Regions from separate parts of the Homo sapiens genome. Here region 1 is linked to region 2. The links are contacts of gene promoters, found by promoter capture Hi-C in human tissues and cell types (Jung and others, 2019). All regions are on one chromosome and are shown on one strand. The core of a region is centred on a gene start or on the middle of the fragment in contact, and the rest is flanking DNA. Distances in the headings are between cores, read along the strand shown. Region 1 overlaps UNKL (unk like zinc finger). Region 2 holds the start of TPSD1 (tryptase delta 1).

Region 1 (7,286 bases), core at 599-3,098, 110 kb after region 2:
TTTTACTAAGACGGGGTTGCACCATGTTGGCCAGGCTGGTCTTGAACTCCTGACCTTAGGTGATCCACCCGCCTCCCAAAGTGCTGGGATCACAGGCATGAGCCACCGCACCCAGCCAGAAGACAGCTGCTTAAAAAAGTAATTCTAAAAGCTCTGACGTCGGATCCCCTCTGCTGCGTTTTTTGTTAGTATCAAACTGTCTTTCAGAGGGTTAAGGGAGAAAACAAAACCCATGATGCTCCTTCACTTGCTCTCCGAGGCGCAGGCGCACAGAAACAGCGGCCACGGACCACAGAAATGCAGGACGGAGCTCTCCTGCTCCCACGCCACGAGGCTGGAACATCAGCCCCAGTGCCTGGTGCACACACAGGCTCAGGAAAACTAGCTCCTTCCATCAAGTTAAAAACATCTCAATCCATAATCACTCTGCTTATAAATACTATTTGCACTTAATTGGAAAATGTAAAAATCCTAGGTCTTACTACTAGATAAACACTCATTTCATAAGTACTAGTTTCAGAATATGAAATCTAATATATTTAGCATACTATGAATTGACAATAAACTGATATGAAATATTTAAGTTCACAGTACACATATAAAGCTTCATATTATCGCATATTAAAAAAAAACAGAAAGCAGCTTAGAGCAATTTATAACCTCTAACTAAATTCCTCGGTTTACAAAGTGCTTTGAAAGACCCCAGCTCCCAGTGGCCTAGTCACAGTAGTGTCAGGACCACAAACTGCTGTGATCACAGCGCCGCGTGGATCCCGGAGGCACCAGGCCCCTCAGGGACAGGCAGGCGGGTTCTGTGGGTTTGCATTTAAGGTTTTTGAGGAAAATACCTTGAAACCGTCGGTAGGACTAGATAGGTGACAACGTGTGACAGGAAAGGCTGTCAGGCCAAGCGCAGGCGGGGCTCCCAGCCTCATGATAACGTGTAACAGGAAGGGCTCCCAGCCTCGGTCCTCACGTCGGTGGCACCAGAAGCGAGTGACGACATGTCCGTGGTCAGGAGGAGCGCTGGAGCCAGGGTGCCCAGCAGGAGGTGGCTGTCCCCGCTGAGGTCACCACTGCAGGGGCTGGCCCTTGCAGTAGGGGCACTCAGGTGCGGTGGCCGCACACGGCTCACAGAGGATGTGGTGCTGACAGGGCCGCAGGACAGCACCGTGGGCCCGCTCCCGGCAGGCCACACACTGCTTGGCGCGGAGCTGGAAGATCACCTGCAGGGCCAGAACAATGACGGGCTCAGGAGGCCCCTGCCCAGGCTGGGCCAGCTGGGGAGCCGGAGGGCCTTCCGGGCAGGACTCAGCATCTCAGGCCGCCCGGCCACCAGCTACAGAGACAGGGTCAGGGAGACGCCCCAGCCAGGGCCACCTCAGGGAGAAGGCAGCTGCGGGGTCAGGGGGTATGCTCTGTCTTAAGAGCCCTGGGCAGAGGACAGCCTCCTGGGGCCACCACAGACACGGCAGTGGCCAGACAGGCCAGGCCCCTGAGGGCAGCTGGGTGCCCAGGATGTGGGCTACGCAGGACCCTCTGTCCTATAGCAGCGAGTCCAAGAGCCCACCCTTAGCAGGCGAGGTGAGGAGGGGCACGCCGAAGTGGAGGGGTCATGTGTGAGGGTCACAGCTGTGAACAGGGAGGGATGGGGCCACGGGGAGCAGTGTGGCATTCGCTGACAAGAGGGAGGGGTGAAAGGGCAAGGGCCAGCCTGACAGGAAAGGCGGCTCCCAGGGAGACAGGCAAGGAGGCCACAGGGGGCTGTGCTGGGGTGGGGCACCGTCTCCTCCTCCCTAGGCCCGGAGCAGACCCTGGGGCAGGGGAGGAAGGGGACACCGCACCAGCCAGGGCCCTCCCCAGACAGGGACAGCAGCCCTGCAGGCAGGCTGGCCCCTCACCCTGCCCAGAGCAGGACTCACGCCGTCCACCGCCTCCAGGTCCAGGCGCAGCTGACTCTGCAGCGAGTGCAGCTTCGGCAGGGGAATGGTGCCGATGTCCCCACAGCCCCGCAGCCCCGGCAGTGTGGAGGCTACGCCCAGGCCCTCCAGCTCCTCCTGCAGCTGCTTCACCTGTGCCTCCACCTCCTCCTTCTTCTGCAGCGCCAGCTGCCGGTCGCTATCGGCCACACGGGCACGCTCCTTGGCCTCCTGCGCCTCTCGCTGCCAGGCATCGCAGACCTGAAACCCAGGGCCCGTCTCAGCACCCCCCACCTCACCTGTGCCACCTGCAGACCCTCTTGCCTGTGTCACCAGCGATCCTCCCCTCCCCTCCCCAGCATCAGCTGTGGCCCCCTCACCTGAGACCCCTGCGGCCCTCCCTCCCTCCCTCCCTCCCTCCCTCCCCCTCCCGTCTCACCCCCCACACGCTCACCTGAGTCACCTGCGGCCCTCCCTCCCTCCCCTCCCATCTCACCCCCACACGCTCACCTGAGTCCCCTGCGGCCCTCCCTCCCCCTCACCTGTCTGGCCCCCCCACACACTCACCTGCTTCACCTGCTGCCAGGACTCCTCCCACTGCCGGATCTTCCTCTTGGCCTCGTCCAGCTGCCGCCTGACCCGGGCCAGCTCAGCTCCGTTTGGACTTGCACTCGAAGAGGATGGGGGGCCGGCACTCAGGATGGGGGAGGGGCTGGGGGAGAAGCTGCCGGAAACAAAGTCCCAGATGCTCCCGGGGACACCGTTCAAACCTGAGTGTGAAACGGTCGATGACGGCCCAGCCCTGCTGTGCTCGCGGCCTGGTGGGATTGGTGGGTGCTATGCCCCAGGCCCCACCGCTACGTGGGCACCCTCTGGGGCTCACCTGCCCTGGCAGCAGGGGTGCAGCCACGCCTGCCCCTTGCCCCACTCCTGGACCCCACCAGGCTCAGGAAGAGGCGCTGACAGTGACACCTGCCCCGGCCGGTCTCCCCACCAGATCTACGCCTTCCTGGCCACCTGAGGAGTCTAAACAGAGAGGAATTAAATTCAAGTTCCTGGGACCACACCATGAGGTGGGAGGGGCAGTGGTTCTCAGACTCCACTCCCAGGAACCCCTCACACACTGAGACTCTCAAAGACCCCACAGAGCTGTGTCCATGTGGTGACTGCCAATGTCTATGCAGCTTTAGAGACTATGACTGAAATAGTTTAAATGTTACTTAAAAAAAACAGGCCGGGCGCGGTGGCTCACGCCTGTAATCCCAGCACTTTGGGAGGCCGAGGCGGGTGGATCATGAGGTCAGGAGATCGAGACCATCCTGGCTAACAAGGTGAAACCCCGTCTCTACTAAAAATACAAAAAATTAGCCAGGCGTGGTGGCGGGCGCCTGTAGTCCCAGCTACTCGGGAGGCTGAGGCAGGAGAATGGCGTGAACCCGGGAAGCGGAGCTTGCAGTGAGCCGAGATTGCGCCACTGCAGTCCGCAGTCCGGCCTGGGCGACAGAATGAGACTCCGTCTCAAAAAAAAAAAAAAAAAAAAAAAAAAACAGGCCTGTCATCCCAGCACTTTGGGAGGTCGAGGCCAGCAGATCACTTGAGGTCAGGAGTTTGAGACCAGTATGGCCAACATGGTGAAACTCCATCTCTACTAAAAATACAAAAATTAGCCTGGCGTGGTAGCAGGTACCTGTGATCCCAGCTACTCGGGAGGCTGAGACATGACAATCATTTTAACCCGGAAGGCAGAGGCTGCAGTGAGCCAAGATTGCTGGAGCCTGGACGACAGAGTGAAACTTTGTTTTAAAAAAATAAAAACTTTTAAAATTTTGTATTTTTTTGTAGACTCAGGAGTCTCACTATGGTGCCTAGCCTGGTCTTGAACCCCTGGCCTCAAGTGACCACCCACCTCGACCTCCCAAAGTGCTGGGATTACAGGCTTGAGCCACTATGTTGGCCCAAAGTATTAGTTTTTTTTTTTTTTTTTTTTTTTTTTTTGAAATGGAGTCTAGCTCTATCGCCAGGCTGGATTGGAGTGCAGTGGCACAATCTCAGCTCACTGCGACCTCCGACTCCCGGGTTCAAGCGATTCTCCTGCCTTAGCCTCCCAAGTAGCTGGGATTACAGGCATGTGCCACCACGCCCGCCTAATTTTTGTATTTTTAGTAGAGACGGGGTTTCACCATGTTGGCCAGGATGGTCTCGATATCCTGACGTCGTGATCCGCCCACCTCGGCGCCCCAAGTGCTGGGATGACAGGCGTGAGCCACCACGCCGGGCCTTTTTCTCTTTTTTTTTTTTGAGATGGAGTTTCACTCTTGTTGCCCAGGCTGGAGCATAATGGCACAATCTCAGCTCACTGCAAACTCCACCTCCCAGGTTCAAGCAATTCTCCTGCCTCAGCCTCCCCAGTAGCTGGGGTTACAGGCATGCACCACCACACCCGGCTAATTTTGTATTTTTAGTAGAGATGGGGTTTCTCCATGTTGGTCAGGCTGGTCTTGAACTCCCAATCTCAGGTGATCCGCCTGCCTCAGCCTCCCAAAGTGCTGGGATTACAGGTGTGAGCCACTGCACCCGACCAAGTGTTAGTTCTTTTACAACGTAACAAATAGCCGGGCACGGTGGCTCACTGTCATCCCACACTTTGGGAAGCCAAGGCAGGCAGATCACGAGGTCAGGAGTTTGAGACCGGCCCGGCCAGCGTGATGAAACGCCATCTCTACTAAAAATACAAAAACTAGCTGGGCGTGGTGGCGCCCGCCTGTAGTCCCAGCTACTTGGGTGGCTGAGGCAGGAGAATTGCTTGAACCTGGGAGGCGGAGGTTGCGGCGAGCCGAGATCGTACCATTGCAGTCCAACCTGGGCGACAGAGCGAGACTCGGTCTGCGGCGTGGGGGAACCTGTGAGCAGCAGGTCATGTGGTTTGCCACCACAGATAGGGCACAAGGTTCCGTGTGAGGCCCCTCAGTCAGGACGGCATCTGGGAGGGAGCCCCACGGAGGCTTCACGGCAACGCCAGCATGGAGGGAGCCGGCACTCACCTAGGGGGCTGTAGGATGAGGCTGCAGAGCCCAGTGTGCCCGGCTCTGAACGCAGGGGTGGCGGCTGCTGGGGAGGCGTCATGGCTGAGGAGCCCACCGGCCCTGGGAGGGGCTGGGACAGCGAACCGAGCGGCGAGGTGGACGCAGAGGATGGCGAGTGTAGCGATGGTGCTCTGGGCAGGGAGCCGGGGATGGCGACAGGTGCAGAGCCGGCCAGCGACCTGGGACCTGGCGGGGGCGGACCAGTCAGCGAAGGGAGTACCGCCAGGCCTCTGCCCAAACATCTGCCATGGGCGGCAGCCGTGGAAGACGGACCCTGCAGGTGGTGGTGGTGGGGATATGGGGGGTGGGAATATAGGGGCCAGGCCAGCCACCACCATCTATGTGTTTGGAGCCACAGCGCCCCCGGTGGCCATGTCCAACACAGCTGGGCAAGCCATGGGCTCAAAGGGATTCCAACCAGAGGTGGGGAGACGGGGGTTTAACATGGGCCCCCCCCAAAGAGGCCGGACACCCACCAGGCCCTGCCGGCCAACTAAGCCATTGGCACGGTCCTCCCAGCACTTGTCCAGGCCCCCTGAAATGGTTTACTTTCTTTTAAAAGAAAGAAAAGATACACTTTTAGGCTGAATGAAAAGATGTTGTATACGATGTTAAGATACATTTGTATGGGGCCGGGCGCACTGGCTCACGCCTGTAATCCCAGCACTTTGGGAGGCCAAGGCGGGCAGATCACGGGGTCAGGAGATGGAGACCATCCTGGCTAACATGGTGAAACCCCGTCTCTATTAAAAATACAAAAAATTAGCTGGGCGTGGTGGCGGGCACCTGTAGTCCCAGCTACTCCGGAGGCTGAGGCAGGAGAATGGCGTGAACCCGGGAGGTGGAGCTTGCAGTGAGCGGAGATCGCGCCACTGCACTCCAGCCTGGGCGACAGAGCGAGGCTCTGTCTCAAAAAAAAAAAAAAAAAAAAAGATACATTTGTATGGATGTCAATCTTTTGTCTACAATGTGAATACATTTATCCTTCGGGGACCATCAAGACTTTCAGGAAAGGCCCCGCCTGTCTCTGCGCGGCCACTTTGCTGGGACAAAGGTCAACTGAAGAAGTGGGCAGGCCCGAGGCAGGAGAGATGCTGAGGAGTCCATGTGCAGGGGAGGGAAAGGGAGAGGCAGTCAGGGAGAGGAGGAGGAGGTACCGCCAGAAGGGGATCCTCCCGCTCCGAAAACCAGACACCGGGTCTTGCCCTGTGGTCCAGGCAGGAGTGCAGTGGTGCAACCTCAGCTCACTGCAGCCTTGACCTCCCCGGGCTCAAGCGATCCTCCGGCCACAGCACTTGGCTGTTCAGCGGCTGGAGGAGCAGGGCCCCAGGTCCTCCCCACCCTCACCTGCTGCTCCCAGGTCGTGGCCGTCTTGCTCTTCCAGGTCCTTCTCTAGGGATGCAATATTCACATTGCTAAGATGCAGGTCTAACGCAGAACCTGTCAACAGAGCCCCCCATCATCCACAGCCCACCCAGCGCTGCAGAGCTCAGGAAGCCTAGCTGAGGAGGACGACCGTCCCACCTGGGCTTAGAGTGAGACCAAGGGCAGAAGGCGTGGGAGTTGCTGGGGCAGCCAGGGAAGGACACCCCCAGCCCGTCCTCGCAGCCCCCCACAGGCAGTGTGAGGCTTGGCTGTTCCTCCGGCAAAACGAGCGTGCTCAGGTGGGACGCCCCGCACCACAGACCAGCAGCTGGGTCCTCGCCTCTGACACGCTGCTGCTGCCCCTCAGAGTTTAAATACCTAAGTGTGTGTTAGCATCTGTCCACGTGTGCACATTCGACTGTTTAAAAAACTTTCCAGGGCCGGGTGCGGTGGCTCACACCTGTAATCCCAGCACTTTGGGAGGCCGAGGTGGGCAGATCACAAGGTCAGGAGATCGAGACCATCCTGGCTAACACGGTGAAACCCCGTCTCAACCAAAAAAAAAAAAATACAAAAAATTAGCCAGGCGTGGTGGCGGGTGCCTGTAGTCCCAGCTACTCGGGAGGCTGAGGCGGAAGAATGGTGTGAACCCCAGAGGCGGAGCTTGCAGTGAGCCGAGATCGTGCCACTGCCCTCCAGCCTGGACGACAGAGCAAGATTCCATCTCAAAAAAAACAAAAACAAAAACAAAAAAAAAACTTTCTGTGAGGGTGATTTCAAGGAGCAGGTGTTCACGTGCAATTTCATGCCAAGCACCAAGACCTCAATTCCCAAGGCTCAAGACTGAGTGGGAAGGACCCGCCTCAGAGTGGCCTCACCCAGCCAGCCCTGCCTTCCAAGGCTGTCCCCACACATCCCT
Region 2 (6,532 bases), core at 417-2,916:
CCCTGGTGTCCCCCGTCACCCCATCCCCTCACCTCCTGGGCTCCTGAAGGTCCCATCTTGTGGGCCTCATTCATGGAACCAGGACGGGGCAGGTGGAGGCCTCTGGGGAGTTTGTCCAGAGAATGGAGGAGAAGCAGGGTCATGAGCAGGAGCGGTCTGGGCCACCCCTGCCTGTCCCCCGGGGGGTGCAGCCCGGAAGGAGTCCAGATGGATATGGCCCCGCAGTGCAGAGTCAGCCTCAAACCAGGCTGGTCCCAGGCAGGGTGGGGGCAGGAGGAGCCCCGGAGTGGCCCTGTGTTGGGGGTCGGGGGGCAGGCAGGGGGTCCTGGGGCTCAGAAGCAGAGGAGGTGGGCTGGAGGCCCCAGTGACCAACAGGCCCAGGTGAGTCAGGAGGTGGGGTGGACGGAGCTGCAGGGACAGTGTCAGCGCTGAATGGGATGGAGAGCACAGGGAGCTGGGGCCGGGGGTGAGACCAAGGGGAGCTGGGCTGGGGCTGGGGGTGAGTCCATGGGGAGCTGGGGCCGGGGGCTGGGACTAGTCCATGGGGAGCTGGGCTGGGGCTGGGGGTGAGACCATGGGGAGCTGGGCTGGGGCTGGGACTAGTCCATGGGGAGCTGGGCTGGGGCTGGGACTAGTTCATGGGGAGCTGGGCTGGGGCTGGGGGTGAGTCCATGGGGAGCTGGGCTGGGGCTGGGGGTGAGTCCATGGGGAGCTGGACTGGGGCTGTGGGTGAGTCCATGGGGAGCTGGGGCTGGGGCTGGGACTACTCCATGGGGAGCTGGGGCTGGGGCTGGGACTAGTCCATGGGGAGCTGGGCTGGGGCTGTGGGTGAGTCCATGGGGAGCTGGGCTGGGGCTGGGGGTGAGTCCATGGGGAGCTGGGCTGGGTCTCCTGGGGTTGCACCTGCACTCCTGTCTGCCCTTCCCTCTGCGGATGAAGCTCAGATCCCATGATAAGAAGGCACCTGCAGACCAGGGGACCTGCACGGACAGCCCCAGAGGTGGACATTGAGGAATCGTTGGAGGACTTGGGTCTCATACGGGAGGTGGGGAGCAGGGCCCCTTCCTGGCTGAGGACACTTGGTGCTGTCCCCTCTCAAGGCTGTTTCCCCATCTGACAAAGGGGTCTCATGTGAGCCCCCAACCAAGTGAGTCGAGGAGGGCTGGCCCCACCCCCGTGGATTCGGAGTCCGTAGGAGGGGTGTCACCCGTCATGTCCCCACCCCGTGGGCACCTTCCCGTCTCTTGGAGGGTGGCCCATGGACATGAGTTCCTCACCCCGTGTCCCTCTTGGGGAAACAGGTTTCAGGAGCGACGGGTCTTGTAGCCTGGGGCAGCCAGGCCACCTGGGTGCAGCTATGCCTGAAGGCCTCCTGGCACCGAGACAGGGGCAGGAGCAGATCCCACCAGCGGGAAGGTGGTGGGTTCCAGTGCTGGGATCCACCAGCTGACAGGTGGAGCTGCGAGCCTCCAGTGCTCAGCCCTCGGCGGGGCCTGCCTGGCAGCCCCACACACAGAGGGCATCGGGGTGGCGGGGGCATGTGTTACACGGGGGCCCTGGGTCTGAGTCATCCACTTCCTCCGAGTCTGGATGGGAGGACCCAGCGCCCCTCCTCCGCCCCCTCCTGATCTGGAAGCATAAATGGGGAGGGGAGAGCCCGCTGGGTAGAAGGAACAGGGAGTGGCCAGGGTAAGTCCCTACTCTCAGAGACCCTGACATCAGCGTCACCTGGAGCAGAGTGGCCCAGCCTCAGACTCAGAGCACCAAGACCCAGGCCCGCAGGCCTGGACCCACCCCGGTCCCCCCGTCCCAGCTCCATTCTTCACCCCACAATCTGTAGCCCCCAGCCCTGCCCTGTGAGGCCCGGCCAGGCCCACGATGCTCCTCCTTGCTCCCCAGATGCTGAGCCTGCTGCTGCTGGCGCTGCCCGTCCTGGCGAGCCCGGCCTACGTGGCCCCTGGTGAGTCCCAGCCGGGGTCCACCCTGCCCCTCACCACATTCCACAGATCAGGGCCTGGGTGGGTTCTGGGGAGGCCGGGCTGGCCCCCACACAGGGAAGGGCTGGTCCCAGGCGTGGGGCGGCTTCTTGGTCCTGACCTGGCACCTGCCCCAGCCCCAGGCCAGGCCCTGCAGCAAACGGGCATTGTTGGGGGGCAGGAGGCCCCCAGGAGCAAGTGGCCCTGGCAGGTGAGCCTGAGAGTCCGCGGCCCATACTGGATGCACTTCTGCGGGGGCTCCCTCATCCACCCCCAGTGGGTGCTAACCGCGGCGCACTGCGTGGAACCGTGAGTCTCCTGGGGCCTGGAGGGGTGGGCAAGGGCTGGATGTGAGCCCTGGCTCCCGGGTGCTCCTGGGGGCTGCCCAGGGCCCTGAGTGGGATCCTCCGCTGCCCAGGGACATCAAGGATCTGGCCGCCCTCAGGGTGCAACTGCGGGAGCAGCACCTCTACTACCAGGACCAGCTGCTGCCGGTCAGCAGGATCATCGTGCACCCACAGTTCTACATCATCCAGACCGGGGCGGACATCGCCCTGCTGGAGCTGGAGGAGCCCGTGAACATCTCCAGCCACATCCACACGGTCACGCTGCCCCCTGCCTCGGAGACCTTCCCCCCGGGGATGCCGTGCTGGGTCACTGGCTGGGGCGACGTGGACAATAATGGTGGGTGTTGGGGACAGCGGGAGGCCGGGCCAGGTGGGCACCAAGTCACAGCCACAGGCCAGTCCGTGGGGTGACAGGGTCCCTCAGGGCGGCTCAGGGAGGGGGACTGTGGAGGCCAGGATGGATGGAGCAGGCGGTGGCGAGAGGCAGCAGGTGCCCTGAGCAGAGACGGTGAGTCCAAAGGGCCTGGGCGTCCCCCACCCCAGGGGTTTGGAGAGTCCCTTAGCACCTCCGTGCCTCGGTTTCCCCTTGCCTGAAAGGGTGCATCAAAAGTTTGTACGTCACGGACTTGCTATGTGGAGAGAGAAATCACACGGGGGTCTTGCTGGAAGGAGAGAGACCGGTGCTGGGATGAGACCTGCCTGCCCTCCATCCCTGTGCTACAGACAAGGCAGGGGCCTGGGAATCGGGGTCGTGGCAGTGCTGTGGGGGGCTGGACGAAGCTCACTGTGGCCCTCCACGAGGCACATTTTCACTTCTAGAAGGTCTTGTCCCCATTTTATCCACAATTCAGAGCAAAGCTTTGGGGTACAGCCTGAGCGGCAACCCTGGGCTGTGACCTCTGGGTCACTCAGAAGGGGCCTGAGCCACTGTCCCGCTATTCCGCCCCACACAGCGGGGAAGCTGAGCCCAGCGCCCTGTGTTCCCCTCGGCTAGGGCCAACCGTGGACCATGGGCCTAGCCCAGACGAAAGTCAGCTGAGCCCAGGGGGAGACACGGGTCGGGCTCTGCACCCCCGTGCCATGGAGCCCAGCTTGGCAACCTCCAGGGCCCTCCCCTCCCTTCCCCAGATGGGGCTTAAATGAGGCCAGGGACCCAGGACCAGCCTCAGCGGAGGGGCCTGGACTGCATTCACCGCCCCTTCCCCGGGGCTGCAGGCACAGAACAGCACTGGGCCCATGGTGCCATCTCCCCTGCCCGTGACTCTGCCACCAAGTCCACGAAGCAGCACCCAGCCGGCCCCAGACCCGGCTCCACGCCCCCCTCCGCCCCCAGTGCACCTGCCGCCGCCATACCCGCTGAAGGAGGTGGAAGTCCCCGTAGTGGAAAACCACCTTTGCAACGCGGAATATCACACCGGCCTCCATACGGGCCACAGCTTTCAAATCGTCCGCGATGACATGCTGTGTGCGGGGAGCGAAAATCACGACTCCTGCCAGGTGGGCCCTCGCGTCCCCCACCCCAATCCCCGGAGCCTGGCCAGCGAGCGCATCCCTCATCCTGACCCCCGAAGCCTGGCCAGCGAGCACTGACCTCTGACCTTCCCAGGGTGACTCTGGAGGGCCCCTGGTCTGCAAGGTGAATGGCACCTAACTGCAGGCGGGCGTGGTCAGCTGGGAGGAGAGCTGTGCCCAGCCCAACCGGCCTGGCATCTACACCCGTGTCACCTACTACTTGGACTGGATCCACCACTATGTCCCCAAGAAGCCCTGAGCCAGGCCTGGGGTGTCCACCCGGGTCACTGGAGGGCCAGCCCCTCCTGTCCAAACCACCACTGCTTCCTACCCAGGTGGTGACTGCCCCCCACACCTTCCCCCATCCTGAGTCCCCTCTCCCATCCTGAGCCCTGTCCCCTGTCCTGAGCCCCCTCCCCTTTCTTGATCCCCTCCCCCATCCTGAGCCCCTCCCCCACCCTGAGCCCCTTCCCCTTTCTTGAGCCCCCTCCCCCACCCTGAGCCCCCTCCCCTTTCTTGAGTCCCTCCTCCATCCTGAGCCCCCTCCCCTTTCTTGAGTCCCTCCTCCATCCTGAGCCCCCTCCCCTTTCTTGAGCCCCTCCTCCATCCTGAGCCCCCTCCTCCATCCTGCCCCCTCCTCCATCCTGAGCCTCCTCCCCAACCCTGAATCCGCCCCTCCCGGCCCCTCCGGCCCTCCCCTGCCCAGGCAGCTGGTGGTGGACGCCCATCCTCTCTAGTGCTGACTCTCATTAAAGTGCATGATGGAAAGCAGGTGTGGCCGTCACTGTGTTTCTGGTCGTGGGTGTCACGGGGGAGGAAGGGTCTAGGCATGTCTCGGGGCAGCTGCAGGAGCTGCGGGGTCCTGGACCCCGAGGCACAACTAGTCACTGTGGGGTGGGGCCTCCTCAGCTGCCCTGGTCGGCGAGTGGGGGCACAGGTGGCTCCCGGTTTGGAGGAGGAGCAATTAATTTCGGTCTCCTCCCGGCAGCGGGAGGTGATTTCTCCGTCAAACACGGAAGCCTGCCGTGGCCGCACTGAGGGTGTGAGTGCTCGGCTTCCCGTCTGGGTCTTGGTGTCCTGTGAGTCGCACAGATCAGGGGCTGCAAGGGAGGGACTCTGAACGCTGCCAGGGCAGAGCAGGGTCCAGCGGGGTCCGGCTGGGCGGGGACGTGGCTCGGAGGACTTGGGAATGGCACTGATCACTGCCCGCTGCCTGTCTTAGAAAGCCCAGGGAGCCAGGGCAGTGTGGGAGACCCAGGAGCCCCCTGGGAGGTGGCGGGGTGCAGCTGGACCCTGGACCCCCGCCGAGAGCGCCCTGGGACGCGGGCTGTGGTCACGTCCCCTGAGGCCCTGGGCTGTGTCCAGCAGGTCTCACCCTGGGTTTAGAGCAGCCGGCAACCTGGCCTGGGGCTCCCCGCTTTCTCCCAGGAAGGGAAGCATGAGGAGTGTCAGAGGCAGCCAGCTCCCCGGGAAAGAAAGGGCAGTGCCCTACCCGTCCACACCCCGGGAGTCTTTCCCCCACTGCCTTGAAGTGCAGTGACTCCCCCAGCTGGGGCGCCCCAACTGCTCTGCTCTGCCCCACTCTGGAAAGACCAGGGGCGTGGGAGAAAGTATAAACCCAGATGTGGTTTCTGCGCGGAGGCTCAGAGCCTGGGTTTGCCCTGAAGCCCTTGCCCTGTGGGGATCCTCCCGACCCTCATCCCCGGGAGTGACAGGCAGGGCGGGCGAGGGCAGGTGGGAGGGTGAAGGCCAGTCCCCGAGCCGCTCACCTGCAGAAACTTCTGCGGAGGAGCCAGGAGCCTCCCCAGACCCTCCCTTTTGACCTTCCACCTCTTCTCTGCCCTGCAGAGGTCCCGAAAGCACAGGGGCAGAGGAGGAAGCCCCTGGTTTTGGGGGCCCGGGGGAGCGGACGCCAGAACCACACATTGACCTGCAGCCTGGGGTCTGGGCGCTGAGTCTGCCTGGTCCAGGTGCAGAATGAACACGGGGCGGAGGAGGGACGGGGCCGTTCTGGGCGTCGCCTGCCCCTCAGAGCACTGCTCTCCCTGCCCACACTGGCCTGGCCCTTAGAGGAAGCGCCCCAGGAAGGCACCCCATGCGGAGGCTGGGCCTCTCGCGGCCGTCCACTCCCGTCTCGCCCTGCGTGGTGGTGTCTGAGCTCTGGGACCCATGGCGTCGCCCGGTACAGGAGGGAGTCGGGGCAGGAATCTAAACCTAACCACTGCCCTGGGAGGCCAGGGCCCGGGGACGCGGAGGCCCCAGCACAGGAGCAGCGTGCAGCGTGCCGGCCTGGGTCCCCCGAGCCCCAACCCACTGCGCCTCCATCTCCGGTGACTTTCCTGCCTCGGTTTCCTCATCTGGAACCTGGCATTGAAGCAGCACCTGTGAGTGTCGCCCCCAGAGGACAGGAAACACACTTCCACACAGAGCCCGGAGACGCACGTCCACACAGAGCCCGGAGACCCACGTCCACACACAGCCCGGAGACCCACATCCACACACAGCCCGGAGACCCACGTCCACATAGAGCCCAGAGACGCACGTCCACACAGAGCCCGGAGACGCATGTCCACACAGAGCCCGGAGACCCACGTCCACACACAGCCCGGAGACGCACGTCCACACAGAGCCCGGAGACCCACGTCCACACACAGCCCGGAGACGCACGTCTACACAGAGCCCAGAGACGCACGTCCA

Evidence for each region. The method cuts DNA at HindIII sites, captures the fragments that hold promoters and counts their contacts. A contact is called where the count stands out against the background at its distance.
Region 1: a fragment that was not itself captured here is called in contact with the fragment with the promoter of TPSD1 in region 2 in 2 of the 25 tissues and cell types used here (liver and lymphoblastoid cells).

What each region holds. Positions count from the first base shown.
Region 1 is chr16:1,365,170-1,372,455 of GRCh38, forward strand. It overlaps UNKL (unk like zinc finger), which reads right to left. Exons shown (of 15, transcript NM_001372107.1): 11 at 6,350-6,442; 12 at 4,961-5,188; 13 at 2,487-2,689; 14 at 1,923-2,180; 15 at 1-1,226. The coding sequence ends at 1,071. It also overlaps the pseudogene TJP1P1. Among named protein-coding and RNA genes, the nearest start is that of GNPTG, 17 kb to the left of the region's middle. The HindIII fragment of the contact is 7,351 bases long and covers 1-5,524 here.
Region 2 is chr16:1,254,403-1,260,934 of GRCh38, forward strand. TPSD1 (tryptase delta 1) reads left to right here and starts at 1,667. Exons shown (of 5, transcript NM_012217.3): 1 at 1,667-1,960; 2 at 2,114-2,285; 3 at 2,395-2,660; 4 at 3,657-3,820; 5 at 3,930-4,606. The coding sequence starts at 1,879. The coding sequence ends at 3,974. The HindIII fragment of the contact is 12,300 bases long and covers 1-6,532 here.